Regions from separate parts of the Homo sapiens genome. Here all the other regions are linked to region 6. The links are contacts of gene promoters, found by promoter capture Hi-C in blood cells and fetal thymus (Javierre and others, 2016). All regions are on one chromosome and are shown on one strand. The core of a region is centred on a gene start or on the middle of the fragment in contact, and the rest is flanking DNA. Distances in the headings are between cores, read along the strand shown. Region 1 holds the start of CCDC150 (coiled-coil domain containing 150). Region 2 has its middle 50 kb from the start of GTF3C3. Region 3 has its middle 56 kb from the start of PGAP1. Region 4 overlaps GTF3C3 (general transcription factor IIIC subunit 3). Region 5 has its middle 31 kb from the start of PGAP1. Region 6 holds the start of HSPD1 (heat shock protein family D (Hsp60) member 1).

What was found. The method cuts DNA at HindIII sites, captures the fragments that hold promoters and counts their contacts. A CHiCAGO score of 5 or more calls a contact.
Region 1: a contact is called between the fragment with the promoter of CCDC150 here and the fragment with the promoter of HSPD1 in region 6, in 3 of 17 cell types (monocytes, total CD8 T cells and non-activated CD4 T cells). The highest score is 8.1, in monocytes.
Region 2: a contact is called between a fragment that was not itself captured here and the fragment with the promoter of HSPD1 in region 6, in 1 of 17 cell types (monocytes). The highest score is 5.0, in monocytes.
Region 3: a fragment that was not itself captured here is called in contact with the fragment with the promoter of HSPD1 in region 6 in 4 of 17 cell types (total B cells, monocytes, total CD8 T cells and 1 more); the score reaches 6.8 in total B cells.
Region 4: a fragment that was not itself captured here is called in contact with the fragment with the promoter of HSPD1 in region 6 in 1 of 17 cell types (monocytes); the score reaches 5.5 in monocytes.
Region 5: a fragment that was not itself captured here is called in contact with the fragment with the promoter of HSPD1 in region 6 in 1 of 17 cell types (naive B cells); the score reaches 5.3 in naive B cells.

Annotation. Positions count from the first base shown.
Region 1 is chr2:196,637,226-196,641,761 of GRCh38, forward strand. CCDC150 (coiled-coil domain containing 150) reads left to right here and starts at 2,490. Exons shown (of 28, transcript NM_001080539.2): 1 at 2,490-2,553. The coding sequence starts at 2,542. LOC105373823 (a long non-coding RNA gene) reads right to left here and starts at 2,460. Exons shown (of 2, transcript XR_923747.3): 1 at 2,171-2,460; 2 at 1,203-1,342. RefSeq lists enhancers at 2,002-2,221, 2,242-2,291, 2,276-2,813, 2,814-3,351. The HindIII fragment of the contact is 4,677 bases long and covers 1,283-4,536 here.
Region 2 is chr2:196,746,993-196,751,947 of GRCh38, forward strand. No RefSeq gene overlaps it. Among named protein-coding and RNA genes, the nearest start is that of GTF3C3, 50 kb to the right of the region's middle. The HindIII fragment of the contact is 4,567 bases long and covers 1-4,355 here.
Region 3 is chr2:196,979,906-196,984,792 of GRCh38, forward strand. It overlaps a transcript of ANKRD44 not described here. Among named protein-coding and RNA genes, the nearest start is that of PGAP1, 56 kb to the left of the region's middle. The HindIII fragment of the contact is 2,815 bases long and covers 901-3,715 here.
Region 4 is chr2:196,766,886-196,771,467 of GRCh38, forward strand. It overlaps GTF3C3 (general transcription factor IIIC subunit 3), which reads right to left. Exons shown (of 18, transcript NM_012086.5): 16 at 3,030-3,154. Among named protein-coding and RNA genes, the nearest start is that of GTF3C3, 31 kb to the right of the region's middle. The HindIII fragment of the contact is 1,794 bases long and covers 354-2,147 here.
Region 5 is chr2:196,955,801-196,960,321 of GRCh38, forward strand. No RefSeq gene overlaps it. Among named protein-coding and RNA genes, the nearest start is that of PGAP1, 31 kb to the left of the region's middle. The HindIII fragment of the contact is 293 bases long and covers 2,176-2,468 here.
Region 6 is chr2:197,496,169-197,501,089 of GRCh38, forward strand. It overlaps HSPD1 (heat shock protein family D (Hsp60) member 1), which reads right to left and starts at 3,672. Exons shown (of 12, transcript NM_002156.5): 1 at 3,614-3,672; 2 at 2,507-2,682; 3 at 972-1,224. The coding sequence starts at 2,680. It overlaps HSPE1-MOB4 (HSPE1-MOB4 readthrough), which reads left to right and starts at 4,211. Exons shown (of 9, transcript NM_001202485.2): 1 at 4,211-4,271; 2 at 4,906-4,921. The coding sequence starts at 4,269. HSPE1 (heat shock protein family E (Hsp10) member 1) reads left to right here and starts at 4,211. Exons shown (of 4, transcript NM_002157.3): 1 at 4,211-4,271; 2 at 4,906-4,921. The coding sequence starts at 4,269. RefSeq lists silencers at 3,552-3,881, 4,072-4,131 and an enhancer at 4,272-4,331. The HindIII fragment of the contact is 3,758 bases long and covers 2,331-4,921 here.

The sequences.
Region 1 (4,536 bases), core at 1,240-3,739, 860 kb before region 6:
ATATTCTATTTGGAGGCCTTTTCCTGGCTTACAAGTAGAGAGTGAAACACAGCCTCTATTAGTAGAGCCGTTTCAAAATTTATTCATTCACTCACCTAACAAAAACTTTCCAAACCCCTACTGTGTGCCGGGCATTGTACTTGGTGTTGAAAAGAAAAAAACAAATTCCTGTCCTTAAGTAGCTTACAGCTCAAATAAGGGGAAATAAGATACATTGACAATTATGAAGTGCTTTGGGAGAGAATAGAATGGCTTCACAGAAGAGGCTAAGTTTCTGTTGAGCTGGTGAGACTGACAAGAGGAAGGCCGTGCGCAGCAGAGTGAGCATAACCTGCAAGCACAAAGACATTCTATGGTAGCAGGCTTGACTTCAGAGTTCCACTGGGGCACTAGGTGCAGAGTAGGCTGGAGGGTTTGGCTGAAGCTATTACCAGTTTGGTCTTCATCCTGCTCAATGGAAAACTTTTCGTTCAATGGGGGAACGATTAAATGTTTTTAAGCAAAGACCTGAGATAATCAGATTTACTTTTTTAAAAGATCTGGTAGCCATATGAAGGATACTTTGGAAGGGGTAATAGGAAAACCAGTTAGGAGGTTATCGCAGTGAAACAGAATGTGGTCTTCATGGAATATCTAGGATTTCCGTGAATGAAATGATCTTGTTTGATAAATGGGGTAATGTCTGAGAACTATTTATCAACTGAAAATCAAGAGGGAAATCAGCAAGAAAATCGGTATGTTTGGCATTATTTCAATCAAAATCCTGGCAGAATTTTTGTAGGTATCAACAAGTTGATTCAAAAAATTTGGGAGAAAGGTAAAGGAACTAGAAAGTTAAAGGAACAGCCAAAACAAATTTGAAAAAGGACAAAGTTGGAGGACTATACTCCCTGATTTCAAGTTTATTGAAGACTTCAGGTCCTTTTCTCTAACTCTGTAATTGCTTAAGTTCTTATACGGTTTGCCAGACAGTGAATAAGGGAAAACAAATGAAAAACACGAATTTAATCAGTTTGGTTCCCTGACTGCTGCTTAATATGGAGATTTGAGGAGAAGGTGAAAACTCTCATTACACAAAAACACGTGGATACATGTATCACTCATCTCTTAATTCCACTGATAAACCAGAGGTCATTGCAAGATAAAACATACATAATGAAAATAATTGGCTGTTTGCACTGACGCTTTAAAATACATTTTCATTTCCTATTAAAAGCTTTATTTGGTCCCTTTCTCTGAATAATGTATGCAGTGCTCATTTCTCTTCACCGGATCGGCTCAAAGCTTGATGAATATGGCTGTGGTTTGATGGGCAGTCTCTGCATCTCACATTGAGGCTCCGCTATGAAAAGAATTAGAATAGCAAGATCAATTGTCAGGCTAAGTAAATGAGCTCTCATCTCGGATCTGATTGCTTATATGAGAGGGCTGAAGTGATTCTTGGCTGCACTCTCAGGGAGAAGAGAGAAATGCATTTTAATTGCCCTGGCAGGGATAACAGGTGTTCTGTCCAGCTACCAAAACGCAAAGCCGCGTCTTTGCACTATAGAAGGCTTTCCCTTAAGTGAGAATACATATTCTTAAAGCAAAACAACTCAGAAACGCTGGTGTGGTGATGCACGCCTGTAATCCCAGGACTTTGGGAGGCCGAGGTGGGCGGATGGCTCGAGCCCAAAGAGACCAGCCTGAGCAATATGGTGATGACCCCGCCTCCACGAAAAAATACAAAAATTAGCCAGACGTGGTGGCGCGCGCCTGTGGTCCCAGATACTGGGGAGGCTGAGATGGGAGGATCGCTTGAGCTCGGGAGGTCGAGGCTGCAGTGAGTCGAGATCGCACCACCGTAATCCACCCTTGGCGACAGAGGAAGACCCTATCTCAAAAAAGCAAACCACCAAAAAAACCAGGGACAGCTCAATGCTCTTTTCCGTTTCATAGCTACTTACACTCAGATTTACAAATACCTATTAACTTGTAGACAGGGCAAGAAATAATTTATGCTGAAGAGACGAAAGACCTGAAAACAGATTTCTGTGTTTTACTCTCCATGTGGCCATCATGGACGAGGACGAAGAGGGACTTGATTTTTCCTTTAACGAGAAGAATGTTTAAGCTCTGAATTTTTAACCAATTTTTATGCTCGTTACTCTGCTGTAGGGTATGTATTTACCAAGATTAGCAGAACACCGCGAGTTCACCAGGCGGAGACAAGTCACTGTGAAGTGGGCAGCACAGGACCCCCCGGAGGGCAGGCGCCGGAAACTACATATCCCGGCGTGCCCCGCTCGCGAGCACAGTGGAGCCTGCCGCCATTCGGTTCACGGCGCTACGCATTCCCTGAGCGCCGCCGGATGCCGGCCTGGGTCCCGCCCAGGGCTGAGGGCCCTCCTGGGCCGGGAAAACTACAGTTCCCGACATGCCCTGCCACGGGTGCGCCTGCGTACCGGAGCTACTGCGCCGGGGAGCGGGTTGGTTTAAAATGCTGTGTTAGTTCCACGGAAACCCGCTCGCCTGCTGCAGTACGGAGCCTCAGGCGGACAGATGGACTGTAAGGTGAGGCTGCCGGGCCCCGGGCTGGTGAGGGGTGGTCGGAGGCTCGCGAGGCTTCGGCTCAGATAAGGACAGTCACCACTCCCTGGCGCCCTCTCCCTGTCCTGACGGAGTCCAGTCTCACTCCCTGGACCTCAGGGCCCTGATTTAAGGCGCTTTGGCGTTGGCTGCCGGTGAAAGCCATTTAGGAGCGAAGTTTGCATTGGCCTGGCTCCAGCTGAGGGATGGGAGATAGCCACCGAAGCCTCCAGATAAGCCCAATACCACCTTTATTTATGTGTTAAGTTGGAGTTTAATAGGTTCCTGGGAAGGCTATTTCGGCGTTAATGTTTGATTTTTGCCACCAGTTAATCCTCCCTGGCTTGCTTACCAGAATATAGGTGTCAGGAATTTGCACTTGTTCTTTACGGTTTCCGCAGTACCTGGCGCTCTTGCTAGAACGGAATAGACATTCGTTAAATTCCTGTCGAAGTATTCTCCTGTTTATTTACCACCTATAATTTCCCAGGCACTGTATTAGGCTCTAAAGATAGAAAAATGTCTATTTTTAACCCCACTTTAGAGAAGTTCGTATTAGTCCGTCTTAAATGCCCCCCAACACATGCTTCTAATTTGTTAATCTTGGCGTGCTCAGGACTAGGTCCTTTAATCCTTTGTGTTCTCTGTTATCCCGCCTTATGGTTTTCTTGAGCTCTTCAGAAATTAGTCTCCAGTCCACACCTCACCCCCAAACTTCAGATCCACAAATTCAATAATGTATTTGGTATCTTTCATGTTTTAAATTTGACATTTTAAAAACTACTCTTTATCTTTTCCACAAAACGGATTCTTCCTTAATAAGTTTGCATTGTCTCAGTGATAGCACCATCCAGGCCAAAAACCCTGTAGTAATCTTGGCTTCTTCCTTTCCCTCATATCTCATATCTAATGCATCAGCAAAAGCTATCTTTCAAGTATATCTAACCACTAACCACTTCTTACAGTAGGAATACCGCTGCTGTCACCTTGGTTCTGGCCAGCAGCATCTCTACTTCTGCTTTTGTTCTTCCACCATTTGGAGTGGGAGGGAGTCAAAATGATCCAGTTAAAAGGAAAGTTGGATAGCATTCCTCAGCTATAGACCTCCAGTGACTCTGAGAATCACTGACAGCAAAAGCCAGACTTCTACAATGGCCTTCAAGGCTCTGTGTATTCTGTTTTTTGTTTTTTTGAAACGGAGTCTCGCTCTGTCGCCCAGGCTGGAGTGCAGCAGTCTCAGCTCACTGCAAGCTCCGCCTCCTGGGTTCACACCATTCTCCTGCCTCAGCCATCCGAGTAGCTGAAACTACAGGAGCACGCCACCACGCCCGGCTAATTTTTTTTTTATTTTTATTTTTGTATTTTTAGTGAGACGGGGTTTCGCCGTGTTAGCCAGGATGGTCTCGATCTCCTGACCTCTTGATCTGCCCGCCTCGGCCTTCCAAAGTGCTGGGATTACAGGCGTGAGCCACCGCGCCCAGCCGTATTCTGGTTTTATTATTACCGTCTGACCTCATCTCTCAATGTTCTCTGTGTTACTCCTTCCTCTCCAGCCAAACCCACCTCTTTATTATGTGCGGACTCATCAGACCTTCTAACTTCAGGCCTTTGCACTTGCTGTTTCCGTCTTCTGGGCCTTTCTGCCCTCTGATATCTATATAACAGGTCTTTGCTCAAATGTTATGAGGCCTTCTTTGACCACCCTGTTTAAAATGAAAATCTGCCCTGTAGCCTCCATACCATGTTCTTTCCTATTTCATTTTCCTCCTTTGCACTTATCACCAATAAACAAACTATGTATTTTACTTAGTGTCTGTCTTCTTCAGCTGGAATATAAGCTCCACGAAGGCAGGGAGTTTTGTTCGTACTGTTCTACCCAACCCCTGCCCCCCGCCTCATTGCCTATAACAGTGTGTGGCTCATGGTAAATGTTCAGGAAATATTTGTTAGATGTGTGAGTGAATGAAG
Region 2 (4,955 bases), core at 822-3,321, 750 kb before region 6:
ATATTGTTCTACTTGGGAGTGTAGAGAAAGGAGAAGGAGTTGTTGTGAACTAATGTCTCCCTTGGAGTGGCATCATTAGGCAGGTTTTGGATAGGTATCCTTCAATTTCTGACCCAGTATTAGACCATTGTTCTTTCAGTGATCCTTTTACTTACACTATCTTCTCGTTTCTTCAATAGTCTTTCCATTCTTAACAGGAGACTTTCTGGTCTAGTTTTATGTCAGAGATCAGTTTTATATAAAGAACCATAAGTCCTATTGATTTCTAGATTGTATACTTTTTAAGGCTACCCAAAAACATTTGTTCACATATTAGATGTTTTCTAAAATAGTTTAATGTTTCAATTTACTTTTTTTCTTATGACACTCTGAAATTTAGATTTAGGCCCATTAATAAAAAGAGAGGATAAGGCTTTCTTTACTTAATCTGTTGGTTCTACCCCAGAATACTATATGAAAGAAGGGCAAAACTGCTAAGACATTTGCCAACTATTTAACATTTGGCATCGCTCTTCTCAAGAGCATTTATTCTGGCTCTTATCTGGTGATCAGTCATGTCATTGAGCAAAAGGGGCTTAAGTTGGCACTATACCATGTGATCCTGTGTTCCCTGCCTTGGACTTCTTTAGACAATAGAGACTTTATAAATCACTTTCTAATTGTAAGCCCTTTTATAAATGGTCAGAAACAATGTACAGTGTAGAGCAGACTAAAATAGACTATGGAATATTTTCTGTTTACCAACCTCAACAGAAAGACAGCTTTGCTTTTTTTTTTTTTTTTTTTTTTTTTGTAGTTCTAATAATATTGAGTCTCATTGGACTGGTCATATGCCTACTGTCAACCAATCACTGTGACTTGAAAGATGGATTATGCACTGATGCTGGGTCTGGGTGCCATGTTCCATCTCTGAAACTGAGGATGGTTTCCCAAAGCAAATCAAGGTGATGTTCTCATAAGAAAGGGTAAATGGTGTTAGGTCAGACCAAAACCACAGATGTCCAACAGTCAAAAGATTGTAAGTAGAGAAAATACACCAAGGTGGTCACTATTGAATTTTATTAATGCTGCAGCCAGAGAGCTCTGAGCTTGTGCTGGGTTATTCTTTTATACTGACACCCCTTTTTCTTTAGAGCATTTATATAAGATACCCACAAGCTGTCAAGTTCTTCCTGAAGTTTTTAAAAACTGATTCTTTAATAACCTAAATATAGGAACCTCCAGGTAGCTAGACAATGGCAGCTGCATAGCTACCTACCTCTCAGTATTTCCTCCACCAGCAATATGCAACAAGACAGGAAAAGTCAGTTCTACATAAAAAACACACCCTCAGCATAATTTGAAGATGGACAATGCCAAATCTTCAAAATATCCAAGTAAAAAGAGAAAAATCACCAAACCCCTCTCCACACTCTGTCATATGAGTATTTCTGCGCAACCCTCACCTCACCACAAAGTAGCAAACAAAGGCAGAGCAAGAAAAACTGTAGGGACTACAGAAAAAGGAAGCTAGTGCGGGGGTCCAAGGTTGATCTGAAACTACCACCACAAAGACTAAATGGACCCTAAGTCTGGAAATACTCAAAAAAAAAAAAAAAGTGTCCAGGCAGATGACAGCATGAACTACAGGGAAGGAACTTTAGGATACATAGGATTTAAAGATGCAGGCATGTTTAAAGGCAAAGGGCATAGCTTCTGAAAAGGCAAAAAGAAAGGGAGAAAGCCCCTTTTGGCAATTGGATTGTTAAAAAGAAAGGAAAAAAAGGAAAGGAAAAGAGGGCTTAGCAAGAAAAAAGAGAAGCATAAAATCAAAGGACTCAGAACCCTTCCCACAATCATCAACACACACACACACACACACACACACACACACACACACACACACACTCTCTCTCTCTCTCTCTCTCACCTGGAAAAACACCTGGACTTTGCACACACCTGGACTTTGCTACATTCACAGAAGAGGACATGACAAACTAGAAATATTGATAAACAGCCCAATACCACAAACAGGAGCAAGAGGAAAGTTCATACAGAGCTACTGCCAGAAATCAAGAAATGAAATTCCCTTATATCAAATTAGGAAAAAATTCCCCAATAAACAATTACAAAGGAGAAGAAACTGAAAGTGAACACTTCAAACAAATATATTCAGACAAACTTTGAGGATATGAAAAAACATTGTGAAACAAATTCAAAAACAGGATGTGGACAGAAGTGGACAGAAATCAGAGATAAAAGCAAGAGTCATTGAAAAAGCCAGGAAAACAACCAAGAAAATGAAAATGACAAAAGAAGAAATAAAAAAGATTAGAGAAAAAGTAATGGAATGGAAAACTGTAATATTTATGTTATTGAGGAAGAAAATTAAGTTAACAGAGGTTATTTTTAAAACTATAATCCAAGAGCACTTTCAAAAATACAAGAAAAAAATCAATCTATAAACTTAAAGTGTTTAACAAGTATTAGGTTGGGGTGCAAAAGTAGTTGCAGTTTTGCAATTAAAAGTAATGGCAGGCTGGCACGGTGGCTCACGCCTGTAATCCCAGCATTTTGGGAGGCCGAGGCGGGTGGATCATCTGAGGTCGGGAGTTTGAGACCAGCCTAACCAATATGGTGAAACCCTGTCTCTACTAAAAATACAAAAAAGTAGCCGGGCGTGGTGGCAGGCACCTGTAGTCCCAGCTACTCAGGAGGCTGAGACAGGAGAACTGCTTGAACCTGGGAGGCGGAGGTTGCAGTGAGCCGAGATCATGCCACTGCACTCCAGCCTGGGTGACAAAGAGGGACTCCGTCTCAAAAAAAAAAAAAAGAAAAATAATGGCAAAAACTGCAATTACTTTTGCACCAACCTAATACTTGGGAAAAATTGAATGATCAACTTTGAGACACATTCTAATAAAAGTATTAAATTTCTTTTTTTTTTTTTTTTTTTTTTTTTTTTGAGACGGAGTCTCGCTCTGTCGCCCAGGTCGGACTGCGGACTGCAGTGGCGCAATCTCGGCTCACTGCAAGCTCCGCTTCCCGGGTTCACGCCATTCTCCTGCCTCAGCCTCCCGAGTAGCTGGGACTACAGGCGCCCGCCACCGCGCCCGGCTAATTTTTTGTATTTTTAGTAGAGACGGGGTTTCACCTTGTTAGCCAGGATGGTCTCGATCTCCTGACCTCATGATCCACCCGCCTCGGCCTCCCAAAGTGCTGGGATTACAGGCGTGAGCCACCGCGCCCGGCCAAAAGTATTAAATTTCAAAGACAAAATATCCTCAAGGTCAGAAGACCAAAAGATCAAAAGAATTTACAAAGGCAAAAGACTGTCAGACATTGAGAAACCAATACAGTTAGCAAGGTGACAAGGAAGTGGTGTGGTTGGCAGGATTCTAAGAGAGGCCCCAGGATTCTGTGCCCACTGGTGAACATGCCTGCATCATCCCTAGACTGTGAAAGTGATGGATTTTACTCCCGTAATTAGATCGTATGTCACAGTTAATTTTAAGAAAGGGAGATTATCCTGGCGGGCCTGACCTAATCACATAATCCCTTTAACAGCAATTTTCTCCAGATGCTTGAAGAAGAGAAAGAGATTTAAAGCACAAGAAGGGTTTCATGTGCCCTTGCTGGCTTGAAGAGGAAGAAGCCACGTATGCAGGTGGCCTCTAGCAGCTGAGAGTGGCCCCTGACTGAAAGTCAGCAAGAAAGCAGAGACCTCAGTCCCAAAACTGCACCCACCTGAAGGAGCTTGGCAGCACATTCCTTCCCTGAAGTTGCTTTAGGGCTTGGAGCCAAGTGGAGATGGAGCTGAATGTTGAGTAGAGTTGACCTGGCTCAGTCTGGGCCACCAGTCCATTTCCTGACAGCCCCTCAGCACTTCTGTACCTTTTCCAGCACCCAAAAAGGGTGCCTTGGGGCAGGTAGAATCTACCACCAATAATAATGATTCCTGTCAAAGGAAACCCAAATAGGATTTCTCTCCCAGCCTAGGTGAGGCTTGTAAGTTTCTGATTTCTACTGCCTTTAATGTAGGTGCCAGCACCTCTTCCCACACCTTTAAAATCACTGCTGCCTCTACTGCTCCGAGGCATTGGAGTAGCTGAACAGAGCTATCCTATGTTGTTTCCTCTGATTCTCTAAAGTCTCAGCTTTGCCTCCTTCCATCAGAATCAAGAATCATCGTTTCTTTTGCCTCTTGAGCTGCCTGAAATGGCCTGCAGATGGCAGCACTCTTGACTCTTCTCCGCCTTCAGGGCTTTTGTAAACAGAAGTAAGTTCTTGACAAGCCCTAGCGGACAGACACCAAGTGAGAAGACTTCTGGCTTCCTGAGGAGACTAGGTTCATTTTTGTTTAAGGGAAAGCCGAAAGCTTGCTATAAAGCTTAGCCAAGCCCACAGGCCATGTACTCTTTTTGTACTTCTAATCCTGAAGTAATCTCAGAGAGCTTTGTAAATCCTTCACAATCCACCTCTGTCTCTTAGCCTCTGAGGCGCCCCCAGCTCCCACTTTCCCTGTTAGCTTTCCACATCCGCTATTTCAGTGGTCCTGTTTGTTCTCTATTTTGTTGGTCAGATGTAGATGGGGCTGGTCTGCTTTCTTCTGGGATCCTCCTAAGAACTCCACTCGACTTCCCTAGATCTTCCTTATTTTTCTAAACACAATCCAACTTTATTTTGAAGTTTCATGTTGGCCATAAAAGGGGAAAAAAATTGATAAACTTGATGATACTAAAATCTAAAACTTGAGTCTTAAAGACACCACAAATAAAGTGAAAAGTGACAAAGGCTTAATACTAGAATAAGAATGCCTATGATTCAATAAGAAATATGATCCAATTTTTTAAAAATTGGCAGAGAATCTCAAAAGCGATCCAGAGAAGAAAGAAAAATCCAAAAGGTTTATAAATATATGAAAAGATAGATTTCAACTTAACCAGTATGCAAATGAAACAATTATTTTTCACATA
Region 3 (4,887 bases), core at 1,058-3,557, 520 kb before region 6:
TTGTCACAACCAGCATCTTAGCAACACTGTCCCCTGCTCCACACCATCCAGGACACTCTCAGATCACCAGGCTGGCGGCAAGGAAAATGATCATTAATATACACTAGAAAATATGTTCTTATCTCTAGGAACTATTGTTAGCACTCTGAAAGGCTTTTCTTTTTCAATATCTGAATGACATTGCAGTAAATTAATTGGTTTTCTCAATCTAATTTCTAGTGTTAGCTGTAACATCACAATGCAAGCACCCAGATGGCACCAACCGAGCCCTTTATCATCATTTTTAGCACTGATGCCAAAAGGAAATGGGCTCAGCAGCCTAATCAAAATTTACATGCTAATGGGTAGACCCTTGTGAATGAAGTTAAGCAGAAAATCAATAAATTACCAGGTAACATTCTCCTAACAAAATTTTTTACAAGTTTTAAGTAATAATAAAACAGTAAGGAGTAAATTTCAGGCCTGAAGAAGAATGTGAAATAAAACATGGAATGGATAAATCATTTCTGAAAAAAAGAAATTCAAAAGGGAATTAGAAACCCGTTAGCTTTCTATTTATTTAGTTTAAAATTGAGATTTTTCAGGAAAAGTTAATGTTTTAAAGCAAATTTAATTTTCACCTAAACAGCAATATAGAATTCCAATAATTTCAGTCTTTTGTCCTCTGCAGAAGGCCCGCTGGGAAGTATTCAATTTTTCATTGTTATCACTAAGACGTTGTCTGAACCACACTCTCCTTTTGTTCATTCTGCAGCTCTTTGCCATCTGTCATGTTTTCTGGAGAGCCTCATAAACACATTTAGGTTAAACCATATGGTCATAAAACCTGTCATTCTGTCATAGCCAAGGTTTGGTTAGTTTTTTAATAGAAATGCACTTGACCATTTTTACTTTGTTAAAAGCTTCATCCTAATCCTGGAACCGAATTTCAGCCTGACAGTAAATCAGCTCTTAGTATCCATCTACTTAAAGTAAAATACCTGAATAATAGATGTTTTGAAGTAGTTAAATGTTCTCATTTATTTTGCTTCAATTCTATGATAAATAGCTTTTCCTATTTGTCATGTTGGCCTCCTCAGATTTTTACTTCTTCACATCCAATGCTTTTTTTTCTTCAGTCATTCTCAACCACCCACTCCCATGGTTATATCCTTTGCTTTGTCATCCTCAAAACTATACCACCTGTGAAATCTTTACTTTGGGCACTCCACATCAAGATCACCAACTCTGGGGCTACAATTCAATAATTCTGTCTTATCCTGACCCCCATTGACTACCACTTTTTCAGTATCCATCACCTCCCTCATGTTTTCACTTTCTTCCTTACCCAGTTTAGAATCCATGATCTACATAATCACATCCATTAAAAGCACCACAGTTCCATAACCCTCTCTCCCTTTGGACTTACCTAGCAAAGCTCTATACCAGGTTAAATTCCACTGTCTTCTTACTCTATGCCTACACCCAAACATCTGATGAAAAAATCCACCAGGATGACTGGTATCATTTTAGATTTATGATTATAAATCTTGAGTGTACTAAATCCTACTCAGTAACCCTCCTCTGTTACTCTAAAATGTTCTCTCCAGGCTGGGCGTGGTGGCCCACACCTATAATCCCAGCAGTGTGGGAGGCTGAGGCAGGTGGATCACCTGAGGTTGGGAGTTCGAGACCAGCCTGGCTAACATGGCAAAACCCCATCTCTACTAAAAATTTTTTTAAAAATCCGCCAAGTGTGGTGGTGTGTGCCTGTAGTCCCAGCTACTTGAGAGGCTGAGGCAGGAGAATCGCTTGACCCTGGAGGTGGAGGTTGCAGTGAGCTGAGATCGCACCATTGTACTCCAGCCTGGGCAACAAGAGTGAAACTCCATCTCAAAATAATAATAATAATAAAATAAATACATAAATGAACTCTATCTTGCCAAATCCATTGGTCAACTTCTCTGCATTTGACTTCCCAGAAGCAATTGAGACAATAGAAATCACTGACACTCCTTCTTCTATGACCCTTTATTTCCCAGGTTTCAGGGACATCTTGGTCTCTTGGTTTTCCTCCTGCCTCTGACCATTATGTCTTGTCTTCGCTGCTAGATCCTCCTCCTCCCCTTCCTAACCTCTAAATGCTGGAGTGTGCACAGTTCAGGGCTCTTCTATCATTTATTCCTGAGGGAATCTCTTCTCATTTGTCAATACTAAAAAAAATTATATATATATATATATATATGCAGAGACAAATCTCTAAGCAAGAGGATTTTATTTGAGAGTAATATACAGAAAGTAGGCTTGCAATAAGGACATGCACACAGAGACCAGGGCAGTTTCCAGTGTGTCCAAAGAACAAAGGAAAGGGCTGGAGTTTTATTGGGAAAGGAGAAAGAAGATGTAAGTTGTTTTCAAAGAAAGTTAATTGGCGATAGCAGAGTGGGCGCTGGTGAGCTCTGATTGGCAGGTGGCAGCAACTGCTAGGTAAAGTTCGCCTTGAAGTCATAGCAGGCTGTTTCCTTGGAGTAAACTTGCGAGACAGTTTTTGGAAGACGTTTGTGACCAGAGTGCTCTTTCCCAACAAAGGCTCCTTGACTCCATTTTCATTGGGTAGGACAGGAATGACTCCAAATCAACTTTCACATGTCTACAATTTCATATGATCCCAGCCCTGGCTTCTTCCCCAAACTCTACTGTTTACTTGACTCAAGCCATCAGCAAATTCAGTCAACTCTACCTTCAAGACATATCCAAAATGTGTCACAGTCTCTTCATTTCCCTTGTTGCCAGACAATCCAAGCCACTATATTTACTTGTCTAGGCTATTGCAGTGGCTACCTAATTGGTCACTAGGGTTTCTCTCTCTTGTCTCTCAACAGCAGCCAGAGTGATCTTTTAAAAATGAAATCACTGGATAAAGAAAATGTGGCACATATACACCATAGAATACTATGCAGCCATAAAAAAGAATGAGTTCATGTCATTTACAGGGACATGGATGAAGCTAGAAGCCATCATTCTCAGCAAACTAACACAGGAACAGAAAATCAAACACCACATGTTCTCACTCATAAGTGGGAGTTGAACAATGGGAACACATGGACACAGGGAGGGGTATATCACACACCAGGGCCTGTTGGTGGGTTGGGGTAAGGGGAGGGAGAGCATTAGGACAAATACCTAATGCATGCGGGGCCTAAAACCTAGATGACGGGTTGATAGGTGCAGCATACCACCATGGCACATGTATACCTATGTAACAATTCTGTATGTTCTGCACATGTACCCCAGAACTTAAAATAAAAATAAAAAATAAAAAATAAAAATGACAGAAAAAAAAAATCAGACCACAGCCATTTTTCTGCTTACATTTCTCCAGTGGCTTTTGTCACATTCAGAAAAATATAGAAACTCCTCCCAGCTCACAAAATTTTATGTCTGGGCTGAGATCGCTGTTAATCTTCTGCCACCCTCCCTTTCCCTTGAGTCTCCAGCCACACTGGCCCCATTTCTGTTCCTAGAACATAACAAACTCATTCCTGCCTTTGGGTATTGGCACTAGCCTTTTCCTCTCCCTAGAATGTTCTCTCCTCTGATCTTTGCATAGCTGGTAATTTCTTGTGGTTAGGATCTGAGTTTAAATGTTAGTAATTCTTAGGAACCCCAACTATAAAAAATATAAATAAAGTTCACGAATTTGCTGGGTACTTTCAACTCAATGCAAACACAGGTAAGCTTTTTGTGCTCTAAAAGTACTGCTTCAGTATTTTTACTTTTGAAAATTATAAAATTCTTCCAGAATGTAATACACAGTACTTCATTAAATTGACATTTAAAAGCAGAAAATAGTATCCTAGAAATTGTGTCCACCAGTGCCTAGAGAACCCTGTGAGGCTGAAGTACTGTGTTGTCAGAGCTTGCCATGTGACGGTGGGCCAAGTGCCCCACCTTTGTGAGCAGGAGTTCCCCCCACTGGGAAAGTAGATACAATCACCTCTTGCTTAAGACAAGAAATATACATGTGTATGGCCACATTTTGGTTTGATAACAAAGGAATTAAAGATGCCTTGATCTGTGCAAATCTTCTCCCCTGGAAAAATACATAACCAGGGCACATGTGCTCAGCATTGCCTTCCAAAGTTCTTTCTCAACCTTGTAAGTTCTCGTTCTGAGGGCATATAAAGTATGTTTATGCAATCCCTTGTGAAAATAGATGAGGCAATATGGCTAGTGTCATAAGCAATACATTGATGAAGAAATGATTCAGAAACAAGAGAAAGGCAAATAGGTGAGCAGTGGGGTAGAGGAGCATTGACATTCTAAGTGGCGCAGTTATTCCCTGGGTTGAGTGGCACATTTGGTCTCCCTGGCGCTTGGAACTATAAATACTCTAGTAGCAGCCCTGCCCACCCCCCAGCCATTGTGCCAACTACAAATGCCCACACATTTCCAATCACTCCCTAGAGTGCCTGAGAATTAATGAATGGCACAGCCATTATCTTGGTGCTTTATATTTTACAGCAAATGTACCTTCAGGATGAAATTTGCTAAAGAGACAATTCATATAGTACTTTTACCCACAATGTTTTTATGTTAATAGCCTTTTAGCTTAATGCTTTTGTGCTTTGCAAACTAATTCTGGAACACATTAAGTGTGTTAAGTGAGGGATACTTATACAGGGATCTAAACCTACCAAATGGAATTAGCGTGAAGGAACCTTTGACAAGCAGTTTGAAGACAAAGTGCCACATCAATGTTCAAAAATATAATTACCACAGTGGAGGCCATTATCACATTTCTCTGCTTATGAGAACACAATTAAAATTAGGGATCTCTACATTTTCCTTGAAAGGGTGAGTTCAGTCAGTCAAGCAAGCAATTTCCTTAGCAATGACTGGGAAGAA
Region 4 (4,582 bases), core at 1-2,500, 730 kb before region 6:
GCTCTTCTGAAGATGTAAGAATTTTTTTTAGCTAGGGATAAATATTCACAGAAAACAGAGCCAAATGTTACAAGTAGTTACCAGAGATTCATAATCTACAAATACACAAAACTTTTAAAAAATAATTTGAAGTTGGCTTGTGCCGTTATAGGCCAATAAACTTTTTGATGTGAGATTGACGCCTAAAAGATTGAGCAAGATATAAAATAATGATAATGTACAAAGGTTTCCTCTCAGGAGCAAATTCACTTGAGTATACTTAACCTTTTAGGGTAAATTTTACCTTTTATAAGTTACTTCTCAGGACCTTGATAACCTCTTAACCCAAAAAAACTGGATTTTTTTCTCCTGAAAGCTTCTGACTCAAAGACTATGGAGAAACTATTTCAGAGCACAGCTACAATGACGCTGGCTCCCTGTGGGTCACACAGTCCAAAAAGCAACTTGTTTCTTTACCTCTTCCCATATTCACTTTCCCTTTTAATAGAGCTTCAGCTTTTATCATTCACTGAAATTACAAATTGCAAAGGTCTGAGTCCTAATTAAGTAATCAAATATATTACCAGATAATTAAGAATAAATCAATTTATGAATATAGAATATAAAATGTAATTATTCTCTAGATGATCTGCTATATAATAAGTGGTCACAAATTTTCCTTTATAAATAGGTAAATAATAAAAATGAATTATTTTAAATGAATGCATTTTAGGGGTAGTAATACTCGTGTTCAGTATACAAATCATACTTTCTGCATAATAAAATAACCTATTTGTGTGACTATGACCTCTATTCCACTGAAAGACACAGCTCTCTTAAGTACCAGCAGACTATTCGACTGCAAAGAAATATCAAGTATTCATAGTTAAAAATGACAAATTTAAAGATAAAAATATGAGGAAAAAGGAATAGTAATCTCAGATGAATTGTTGTAATGCAAATGAACCTGTAGGTCCCCTAATACAATAATGGAATAACTTGCTGCCCTTTAAGAAATGTTTAACAAATTTAAGAGGATAACCTGAAAGACTATTCAAATAATATTTAGTGATTTAAAAACTAGCCAATGTGGGTAGCCACTTTGTAGGTACTGTGAATTATCAAATTTAAAAACTGCAAAACAAATTCTATTGTTCTATTCTGTTCTGTTCTCCCAAATGGAGTCTTGCTCTATCACACAGGAGTGCAGTGGTGTGATCTCAGCTCATTGCAACCTCCACCTCCTGGGTTCAAGCGACTCTCCTGCCTCAGCCTCCCGAGTAGCTGGGATTACAGGCACACGCCACCACACCTGGCTCATTTTTGTATTTTTATTAAGACCATGTTTCACCATATTGGCCAGGCTGGTCTCAAACTCCTGACACCTCAAGTGATCCACCCGCCTCGGCCACCCAAAGTGCAGGGATTACAGGTGTAAGCCACTGTGCCTCGCCAAAAACACACAGTTTAAATTGAAAAGAAAAGAGTTCTTTTGACATTATGTTACATTTCAAACATTTAAATCAAATTAATCACTAAAGGGCCCAATGTACTCACTGTCTATACAATATTAAATAAAAGTAGAAGTAATGAAACATTGACGATTTTACTTTTAATACAATATAAAGGTAAGAAAGATAATAAACCATAAAAAAAATTTTTTTAGGTAGTATAATAGAAAACTATAGTCTTGTAGCAAGAAGAAAGAAAAATAAGAGAAATTAAAAGTTTCAGAAATGATGCTATTTACAATAAAACCTGCTTCTCAGAAACTTTTTTTATGGAAAATGTTTAACATACACAAAAGAGATTAGTCCAATGAACTTCCATATTCTCATTACCTCTTGTTTCATCTCTACCTCCAACCACTTGAAACCTCCTATTTAACTATAAAAGTAATTTGAAATTTAGCTTCCATATTACTTTGAAGTACATGAATTTTTGTCCTACCAAGCCCAAAAACTACATATTTTACATATTTAATGAGTTAATCCATAAAATTTTCCTATCAATTTTTACCAGAATTTTATGAGGGCAAGAAATTCCATCTGTGTACTTACTCACTGCTACGTCCCCGATTCCTGGCACACAATGAGCACTACGTTTAATTTATACACAATCCTACATTACTTAGTACAGCAAATAGTATCCATTAAGGAAGAAAAAGAAGCTTTGAGGAAAAGGTAGATAAGAATATAAAAAAGGAAAAATTTAGAAGTTTTTGTTTTTCAGGATTTTTAAAAAACTTATTATAGAAATTTTCAAATATACAACAGTAAAGAGACCACCTTAATGAACTCATACCTAGTTTCAACTGTTATCACCATTTTAATGCAGGCTTTATTTTAACCATTTTACTTTAAAAGAAACAAAAAGCCCCTTACTAGACCCTGCAACTCCATTCAAGTCAACATTTTCTTTCTTTTCTCACCTACTACTTAATAAAAGACATGTCTATACCATATCATATTTTGGAAACATCAAACATACAAAAATGAAGTCACAGAAATGAAAATGCTGAAGGCAAAGTAGTGAACAATATTTCTGATCTGCTGGACTTTATACTTTTATTAGAAGAGACAAGCCATTAAGGTAGACAACAAGAAACATAATTTCAAATTATTATAAGAACCACAAAGAAAATTTTAAAAGGACAGTTTGTTGGTGATGGTGTAAGGAAACAGGCACAATCATATTATTGTATAATTTTTTTTTTCAACTACTTTAAGTGAATCTTCAGTACCTCAGATGGTTAGAGACCTTGAGGACCAGACTATAAGGAAGCCTGCCAGTGCATTCCTCCAGATTCTGCCTGTGTCTTTGTCCCTAAAGATCTGGCTGTGTACCTTTACTATATCGCTGTAATAAGTCTTAATCATGAGTATAATTATATGCTGAGTGCTGAACACTGGGGTAAGTGTTGGGGACCCCCGTCATGTGTACTGAGAGCATTGTGTATTACTTTTGAAGCAGGATTTTTAAAAAAAGTATTAAGTATATTCATTTTTAAGAAACATAAAATCAAGTAACGAGAAATTTGAATGAATTACCTGTACAATAAGAGCATGTCTCCGTAACACATACTTCTGAGATGCCATATGAATAAAGGTTAGGCCTATACAGAAGCTATAGAGAGGTTCGTCAGGGTGAGTGCGAAAGGCTTGCACATACTGTCCTGGAAAATAAGCAGTGGTGTCAGACGGTGTGACAAGAACAGAGTTATTTATTTCTTCAACACTTTTAAGGCCAAACATTACTGATTTTAACATACATAAGGTGGACATTCTATCTTAAATAGCAACCAGAGACCTATTAATTTGAATTTTAAAACAATGTATAAAATAAAACAAGTTCCCCATGAATGTATGCTGACCATGAAGATTCATATGAGGAACTAAATTAACTTTTTCTAGGCACAGCTAGACATTTCCATGTAAAGTAATACTTCCAAAATAAACAATTTATCAGCTGCAATCATTAAATCTATTTTATGACCTTAAATCTAGTTTGAAAAGAATGGAGGAGGTGTGTTTTGGTGAACATTTTTATAGAATCAACTGATCTGTTTTATAAATTCAAATGTGGTGGATCATGGAGGTGAGAAGAGGAAAGCTTTGTTTTGTTTTTTAGACTACAGGTGTTGTTTTCCCAAATGTAGCAATTATTTGTTTTTTCTGAGAAAGCTAAATGTATCCAATAACAGAATAAGAATTTGGAGTTTTATGAATTACATGTATTCCATATATACAATCATCTCTTGTCAAAAGCCTAATCATATGCAGTAGGGGTATTTAAGCAAGTTTTTCTCATAAAGGAATAACATATAATGTATCACATATAGATGAAAATTTCTCTTCCTTCTGGCTTCTATTTTGGAAGGAATGGCACCACAGAATCTCTTAGGCAGCAAAGATGGTAGACTGCCATTTGTCTATCATTTTAACCTTTTGTAAAAGTTTCTAATATAGGAAAATAAAATATTTTTATTTTCTTAATATAAAACAATTCCACAAAGCACACACAAAAGAGGAATGTTTCAACATCTGATGTTTGAGGTTACTGGATGAACGATGATAAAAATACGGGCCATATACAAGGAATCATGAACGTATCAAATAGCCAAAAACCATAGTTTACTCATAAGAAGTAAATCTGGCAACACCACCTTTTAGGTAGTAAGACATGCATGCCTAATTTTAAGTTTAAACATTTAGTTAGTTAGATGTTTTTCTACTTGTTTGCTTCTTCTTTAATTTTTTTTTAAAAGGAGACTCTGCAAGTAATACTTGTTTACTTCTGATTCCTTATTACAGAAATTCCTTATTATAAATGATTAATGAAGTTTCCTTGAGTTTAATTAGAATTAGTAACCACCACATAAATAAATCTTAATATAGATTTAGCTCCTGAAGGAATGAACTTTCAGCAAATCTTGAATGTTTTGCATTATGGCAAATTAAAATCAGGTGGCAAAAGCATCCATAATTAATGAAAATCATTTTAAAAATAAATAGGCCTAAGCAGGGAGAATTGTTGACCGTTAAAATGAATTTTATAAGACCTGTGTCAGCCTTTTACAACCAAAGCTTAGTAAGAATAACAA
Region 5 (4,521 bases), core at 1,072-3,571, 540 kb before region 6:
TCATTCCCCTGCTCACCTGAGACAAATGCATATCTGATTGCTTCCTCTGCCTTATTGTTTATGTACAAATCACTGAGCCAGACTAAGGCATAAGTGACTATTCTTCTACCCACCTCTCACGTGTAAATTGTGTATTCAGTGAAAGGCTAATCAGAGACTCAAAAGAATGCAACTCTTTGTCTCTTATTTACCTCTGATCCCTCCTGCCTTTCTGGAGTGAACCAATGTACATCTTACACATATTGATTGATCTCTTATATCTCCCTAACGTGTATAAAACCAAGCTGTGCCCTGACCCCCTTGGGCACATGTCATTGTAACTGCCCAGTGGGTTCACCTTGCCTGCTGCCTGGCCAGAGCCGATTTATCAAGACAGGGGAATTGCAATAGAGAAAGGGTAATTCATGCAGAGCCAGCTGTGCAGGGGATCGGAGCTTTATTATTACTCAAATCAGTCTCCCCGGTTAGGTGTCTTTCACTGTCTCAGTCATAATTTTCCAACGGCAGTGTCATCATCAGGACCTCCAGAGGCTTTATCATGGGCACGTCCTTAAACCTGGCAAAATAAACTTTCTAAATTGATTGAGACCTGTCTCAGATACTTTCTGGGTTCACAGGAGTGGTGAAAATGTTCTAAAATTAGATTGTGGTGATAGTTGCCAGTCCTGTGAATATACTAAAAACCACTGAATTGTAAACTTTAAAACAAAGGTGAACGGTATGGTATGTGAATAGTAATGTTACGTGAATTGTGCCTTATTAAAGCTGTTTGAGACAGAGTTTTGCTCTGTCGCCCAGGCTGTAGTACAATGGCGCGATCTCGGCTCCCTGCAACCTCTGCCTCCTGGGTTCAAGCGATTCTCCTGCCTCAGCCTCCTGAGTAGCTGGGATTACAGGTATGTGCCACCATGCCCAGCTAATTTTTGTATTTTTAGTAGAGATGGGGTTTCACCATGTTGGACAGGCTGCTCTTGTACTCCTGACCTCAGGTGATCCACCTGCCTCGGCCTCCCAAAGTGTTGGGATTAAAGGTGTGAGCCACCTCACCTGACCACTTTTTTTTTTTTTTTTTAAAGTAAAGAAAGAAGTTGGAAGGAAAGCTACTGAACTCAGCTTTAGAAAGGCTATAAATAGTAATTGGAACTATGGAAGGGGATAAAGTTACAAAAGATGAAGACAAGCATGGAAAGTTATAGAATCATGGGTACATTCACACTCTAGCACATTATCCTGAAATTCTATATTGAAATAAACTGAGCTCTTAAGTTTTTTAATACAAGCTGAAATTTCCCTTTGCTTTTCACTTTCTTGTTAAAAAGATACTTGATTTCTTTATCACAACCGATATTCAATGGATTGTTAATTTTAACAACTTAATTGTCATTCTCACATAGTAAAAGAATAACAAACTTTGTATATATATATAAATGCAACCCATTGTCTCTTATCTACCTGTGATCTCTCCTACCTTTCTGGAGTGAACCAATGTACATCTTACACATATTTGTCTCTAAATATATATATATATTTATATATAAATATATATATTGATTGACCTCTCATGTCTTTATATATTATATAATATATATTTATATATAAAGACATGAGAGGTCAATCAATATATTTATATATAAAAAATATATATATATTTAGAGACTCTATATATATGTATTTAGAGACAGAGTCTCATTGTTACCCGGGCTGGAGTGATCACAGCTCACTGTAACCTCAAACTCCTGGACTTAAGTGATCTTCCTGCCTCAGCCTGCCAAGTAGCTAGGACTACAGGCGTGCGCCACCATGCTGGCTAATTGTTTAATTTTTTTGTAGAGACCAGCCCAGGCTGGTGTCAAATTCCTTGCCTTGAACAATCCTCTCGCCTTGGCCTCCCAAAGCCCTGGGATTACAGGCCTGAGCCACCCTGCCTGGCCGTATTTTTAAAACCTTTATCTGGAAATGATGTTAAAAGAGTTACTTTCAAACACCAGTGAGAGGAAAACACTTCTCCTCTATGACTGGCTTCTCTCTGAAGGTTTATGAAAGTTTGACCTATTTGTAGGACATGGGGGTAATTGAATAGGGTGTACATTAAGATGAATGAGTTTAAAATTGTGAGGTTAACCCCAGCCTCACAATGAGTCAAACAATGGAGAATAGCTTGTTTCATGGAGCTGAAGCTTTTGTTATTTTTGTTGGTTAAAGATTCAAATTGATTACATGGAGGCTGCAAGCAGATTCTCTAGCAAATTGGCATCCTGGGGAGAGCCAGGTACTTTGAAAATTTCTAATTAGGAGAAGTTAAAGGTTATATAAGCCCAGCTGCCAAACTGACTGCCTGACCTTAAAATCCAAACAGAATCTACCTTCCTTTCCTTCCTTCTTCTCCTTAGCCAAGACCTTACCTAGAAATGAATTTTAAAATGCAAACAGGAACTTCTGTGATAAACCAAGTCTAAGAACTAGAAGGAAGCTTATTAGTTACAGTTGAACAGACTCTAATGGCTATTCAAAGTCTTTAAGCATTCACAGCCTTAAGTAGTCACACATTTGGCTTCAGTTTCAACTAATCCAGCTAGAGGACAAAAACATTCAGTAAATTATACCGTATCCATAGAATTTTTGTTCCTTAAGCATATTTACTGCATGTATTAGTCTGTTCTCACACTGCTATAAAGAACTACCTGAGACTGGGTAATTTATGAAGAAAAGAGGTTTAATTGACTCACAGTTCTGCAGGCTTAACAGGAAGCATGACTAGGAGGCCTCAGGAAACTTACAATCATGTTGGAAGGTAAAGGAGAAGCAAGCATCTTCCTCACATGGTGGCAGGAGAGAGAAGGAGCAAAGGGGGAAGTGCCACACACTTTTAAACCATCAGATCTCGTGAGAACTCACTATCATGAGACCAGCATGGGGGAAATCCACCCCCATGATCCAATCACTTCCCACCAAGTCCCTCTCGTAACACTGGGGATTACAACTCAACATGAGATTTGGGTGTGGACACAGAGCCAAACTTATCACTACATTTTTAGAAACAGGATAATTTAGGTATGGAGTTATAGATCCTATGGAAAAATCTAGTCAAGACCACGATGAATATGACTTAATTTTATAAATGATGTTTATACTCCTGCCAAAAAAAAAAAAGCCAAGTAGATCATTGATTTCTTACAAGTTATTTTACCAATTGTGGTTTAGAAAATATTTCTAATCCAATTGTCACCTATCTTTACCTGTAGAAACAAATGTGGTCACACACTTTACCTGTAGAAACAAATTTAGGTCACACATTGTATAAATTATAATGGGATTCAAATTTTATTTTCTTTAAACAGTAGCTATTTTTCTTCAAAATGGTCCTGGTTATTTCTGGGAGTCCCTGAACATATGCTTTCCTCATATTCACAAACCAATCTATCAGCTTTAATCACTACTAGAATCATCCACCCACTTAATTAATAGGTACTGAGTGCATACTATGTGAGAGGATACAACAGAGTCCTACAGAAATCTCTGTCCTGGCCCTCTTGGAGCATCCCTAGTATTTTTTCTTGTCTGCTCCAGTTCTCATCTGTCAACATGAAGTCCTGGCAAGCAGCTGGAAGAAATTTTTATCACTGCCTTCACTGAGGAAGTCCACTGCGAAACACTTGACCAAGAATGTGCTGAGAATACTGTCTCCCAATGTCTCCAAAGTCCCCATCACATGTGCCAGAACAATACTGGATTCCACAGGGAGGTGGGAAAAAATGGCCCTCTCCAACTCTGTGTCACTCTTTGACATCTGGGCCCCAAAGCAAGTCCTGTTCATGAAAAAAAATATTCTGTAGTTCTAGGGGCTCACAATCCACCCAATGGCCTCAGTGTCATGTTATCGTCTCCATTATCCTCATCACCCCTCTTCCCTGCCCCAAGCTATTACCAAACAAAAGCACCCAGCAATGTCAATGAGAGAAAATGTACAGTGGGTGCTGGTGGTTGTTTTTATACTAGGAGTGTCTGGACGCCAGCTGAAATGGCCTGTGACATTGTGTAGCATAATTCAAAAGTTTGGCCAGCAATCCTGCATACAAAATGCAACCACTTGAAGGTTTTGCCCAGAGCTATGGCAATAAAGTGCATAGCAGCAGTTCAGTGAACTTTCTCCATTCTTCAGCCTGCGCAAAGCACTGGCTGATGTAGCCAGATATTGTTGTCCATGGCTTTAATTATTTAGAAGTAGATATGAATAATAGGGAGCTTGAAGTTGTCTAGAGCTTGGTGTGGTGCTGGCTCAAAATAGCAACTAATTCCTATGTAAGTTTAAAAGAGCTTGGTATGGGTAACCTCTAGAAGATCCCAAGCCAAGTAGAAAATGTGGTCAGGAAAAGGATTCAGCCCTTGAATATTGAGAAATCATGTTGTCACAGAGAACACGTGACAACTTCCATGTGCAAACAAAACATAACAGATAACAGGCCATTCAGAAACTGTTACTGAGGGACTTGCTCTTGGAAGGCTGAGGATAAATTAAAATAA
Region 6 (4,921 bases), core at 2,422-4,921:
AAATATTTTTGTTTTACATCAGTCTTAATAGTCCCATTTTGCTCAATTGGGAATAGTGCTAGCTCTCTTGTTTGAGAACTGTTACTTCAAAAAAAATCCAATGCAAGGTGCTGGTAAGTCCTCTTCATAACCTTAATTAATACTTGTTAGTGATTTACAGTAAAACTGCTTTTAGTGAAGTATATTCACTTGGCCCATAAACACTGAAATAGATGAGGTAATGATACATTAGTAATGTAGTAATAAATTAGTATGCCAATTCTGACAAAAAATTACCAATAGCTCCCCCCACCTTCACTTACAAGAGGGTTCCTGGTTTGAACCCTAACATACCCTAGATATACATAGCAATTCTGCTGATAGGAAAACCAAGTCTTAGCACACAGCTAATAAATGACAAACATGGGACTAGAATTTAAGTCTATACTGCCATGAACCTCATGAGGAGGAGCAAATTGTTAATTAAGTTGCACTCTAGTTACAAGCACTAACAAAACACAAACCAATAACATGGTGTGTGCTATTAAGAAAAAATAAACTGAGGAAAACATTACTTTCTGACATTCTGAATGATCCAGTGTATTTAGTCTTACTTTCTACAAAACTAAACTAAAAATTAGCCAGGAATGGTGGTGAGTGCCTGTAGTAGTCCCAGCTACTTGGAGGCTGAGGCAGGAGGATTGCTTGAGCCCAGGAGTTCCAGTGCAGTCCAGCCTGGGCTACAGAGCAAGACCCTGTCTCTAAAAACAAAAGAAACCAACTAAGTAAAATATCAAAATTACCTAACAGTACCTACCCACCATACAGCCAAGCTTGCTAAAGGAAAACCCAGTTTAAGATTTCTCCAGGCCAAGAGGAGGAATGAGAGAAGGATTAATTTCCTCAAGTTAACACTTTCCTTAGGTCCAAGGAATCAATGCCTTAAAGCACACTGAAGTTTAGAACACTGTGGTGACAACAGACATTCCTACCTCTCCTGATTTCCACTGGATTAGCACCTTTGCTAATCTTCTCGAAGCCTTCCTTGGCTATAGAGCGTGCCAGTACAGTAGCAGTGGTAGTGCCATCCCCAGCTTCTTCATTTGTGTTATTGGCAACATCTTGAACAAGTTTAGCTCCAATGTTTTTGTATTTATCTTTTAAGTCAATTGACTTTGCAACAGTCACACCATCTTTTGTTACTTTGGGACTTCCCCAACTCTGCTCAATAATCACTGTTCTTCCCTAGAAGAAAAAAATGTAACAGGATCAGACATACCCTAAGGATGATTTACATTTTTAAAAATGAGCAGTCTTCATAATAAAGCAACTACTTCAAAGTCTCAACGTAAGTTGTGTCATTTTTATCAGTCTTGCAGCATGAACCTCAAGGGCAAGTTTATCGACATTCTTTGTCTACAGACAAAATGACCTGATTCTCTGCCAAGAGCATAATTTTGAACTAGGTAATTTAGGAGATTAAAATCCTAGGGACTAAAACTTGTCATCTTATAAAATGAACAAGAACACAAGACAAAGAATAAAACAATCTTCCTATCACTTATACTTTAGTTAGTGCCTGTTATCTTTTAAAGTAATGTGACTTGTTTTAAAATCCGTTTAACTAAAATATTAACCATCAAGGCAAGTAGCGTGCTCTTCCAGGTTCACGCAACATAAAACTTCAACCATGGCACAATTATTGGCCATCCTTTGGATTTGAACTAAAGCTGCTACTTTCTATTTGTGAGGTGTGCAAATGTTGTATTTTAGGCAGTTGTTGGATCACTTGATATCTGAACTGTCTTCAAACTGAAATGAAGCACCACTTGACTGCACACCACCTTCAAAGGCCTCCTCAAAACATTACCCCTATTAAATGAGACTTATTTTAAATATGCTTTGGAACAAGAGAACAGCAGAAAACCGATGGGTAAAACTAGCATCTTGGGGTGGAGGAGAGAATGGGAAGCTACTGTCTAATGAGTACAAAGTTACAATTTTTCCATATAAAAAGTTTTGGAGATGGATGGTGGTGATGACTGCACAACATAAATGTAATTGATGTCCCCAAAGTGCACACTTAATGGTAATTTTATGTTGTGTACATTTTACTACAATAAACCAAAAAAAAATTTAGCATCTACAAGCACATACCTAAGGAATTATGGAAGATAAGTTAAACTCTTCTCTCTACACTTGGCATGAACTACTGGGAAAGGATCCAAATTTTAACTTAAGCCAGCGAAATTCTACCTCGAGTTTAAGAATCCACCTTGAGCTGTAAGTTACTACCTGATTACATCACACATTGAACAAAATAGTTTCGAAAATCTGGCTGAAGCAGTTTAAGCTTTAAGATCATGTCTAAGAAAAAAAGGCTAACCAATACTTCAGAATTCTTACATGTAAACTGAGTTCTCTCAAAAATGGAGATGAAAGTACTGTTGAATAGTTCAGTGCGACTATTTGTGAGTAAAATGCTATTAATAATACCGTAATTACAATAAAATAAAAATACTGGTACCTTTGGCCCCATTGTAACGGCCACAGCATCGGCTAAAAGGTCTACACCTTGAAGCATTAAGGCTCGGGCATCTGCACCAAATTTTACATCTTTGGCATAAGCCCGAGTGAGATGAGGAGCCAGTACCCTGGACACCGGTCTCATCTGGCGAAAGACTGTGGGTAACCGAAGCATTTCTGGGGATGGAAGCAAAAAGATCATCAGAACTACCACCCGTGGTGCGCTGCAGAACAAACATGCCCACCTGTGCAACAGAGCAAGCAACGTGAGATGCTGAGCCTGGCTGACCTCCGCCAGCCACTACGCCTGAATGACGGAAGGCGCCGCAGCTTCGGAACATCAGCCACTAGCGCAAGCTAAAGAGGCCGCCCCGGCCGGCGCCTGACCTATAGCACCAGCACAAAGCACATGCGGCTCCTTCCCCACGGCCACCTATCCCTGCCGCCAAAAACGAGTTAATCTTTCACCGCGAAAACGGCCTTGTGGGCAGACCCACTCCAACTGTGGCCCCTGAGAAACCAAGTCAGCCGGAGAGAGGCAAGTTACAAATCCAAGTGACCAGGGAAGTTAAAAGTATTCCTGACGGTGCAAAAAGCCGCTCAGCAAAGTGTCTCCATGGATCCACCCAAGGCTACTGTATCAGAGCAACCAGCAAGGCCGCGATGCTGGGGGCGGCGGCCCGGCCCACTCGGCGCGAGCCCACGTGTCCTTCTTTCCGAACGCCCCCAGCAAGGTCAAGACTGGAGGCGCGGTATCCCAGCTGCCTGCGGGGGAAAAAAGCGGTTCCCTCACGTACACCACCCTCCCCGGTTCCCTGAAGTCGGCCAGGCGCAGGTTGCACCAGCGGGCCTAAGTGGTTACAATCCCCCAAATTCAAACCCCACGAGTTGTCCCTCCCGCGCCCAGCCGAGGTCCAGGATCCGCGTCGCACGTGATGGAACCCGCATGGACCCGCGAGGCCTGGACCCGCAGGCCTGGGCCTGCGGTGCGGCGCGGTGCGGAACTCCAGGTTGTCGCCGCCCGCACCCTCCAGCTGGACCGCAGAGGAGGAAGGCCCACTCGGGGGTCGCAGGAGCCGGGGGGAGGTGGTGCGGGAAGGCCGCGTACCTGCGGGGCGGCGGCAAGGCGTGCGCTCGGCGAGACAGGTCGTCGGCGGCGAGTGAGGGACAGAGTGCAGGGCGCACACCGCAATGAGCCCGTGTCCCCTCCCTCCGCCTCTACTCCCGCCCCGCGGCACCGCGTGTGCAGGCAGCTCCCACCCACTTCCCGTCAGCCCGGGCCCTGCAATCTGCACACCCTGCGCGCGAGCCCCGCCCCTCCCTACCCGCGCAGGGTGTGCTAGCGCGCTCAGCCCTCTCCGGCCGGCTTAGTCTAGTTCCCGGGCCTCGCTCGGTTCCAGAACTTTCCAGAAAATGCCGCGCTCCCTACGGCTCAAGGGTCAAATCGCGTCATTTCCGGGAGGGGACGAAGGGGTAGTTCTTTCACCTCGGCTGGGCGCCTAGAAAAGCCTAGAAACAGCTCCTTTTTTCTTCCGCCTCCGAGTCTTCGCGTCAGCGTCCTGCGCAGGGCCCTTGGGGCGAATCGCGGTGCGCGTCGGGGCGACCGCCCTCCCTCCCTGGGAGGGGCGAGGGGGCTAGCGGCGACCGCTGGGGCGAGCGCGCCTGCGCGCTGGGTGATTTTTTCACGTGTCGCCAGGGCCGGACTGCGAGTCTCTTTGCGGCGCTACACTAGAGCAGAGTACGAGTCTGAGGCGGAGGGAGTAATGGTGAGTCCCGCGTGGCCCCGAGGCCTGCAGGCCCGGGCCTGTCTGAGGCGTACGGGGATCCCTGACGCCCCTCTTTTGTTGGGCTGGGCGGGAGGGATTGGTGGCCACTCAGTGACCAGCGCCCGATGGCACCTTGGAGCGGCAAGGCCCGCCCGACCCTTTTCTCCCCCAGGGCTCTTTGCACGCGCGTGTGCTGCCGGTGTGTAAGGCAGGGGGGCGAGAACCCGGGCGCACGCGCAGCGTCTCACCTGCTTCTGCAGGGCCTTTGTGGATGTGTAATATCTTGGGTAAAAATCATGGTGCCAGGCAGGGAGCTTGACCCAGCGTTTCCTGAAAATTTCTGGAAAAACCTGAAGAAGGAAAACATTTGACCTTGGAATAAACTAAGGTTGACCTTAAAGCTGGTCTGGTTGCTCACCGGAGGAGCGACAACGACCCCTAACAGACGTAAGGAATCGGGAATTAAACTTGGAATATTGGTTAGTACATTCAAATGCGCTTCCTTAACGAATAAGCTGAGGTTTGGTGTTAACTTTCAAAGCCAAAACGTGTTGAGATGTATAGCACGGTGGCGTTGCCTGTTGATAATGTGATTACATTTAGTTTTTGTTTCAAAACATTTCTCTTCCTACAGGCAGGACAAGCGTTTA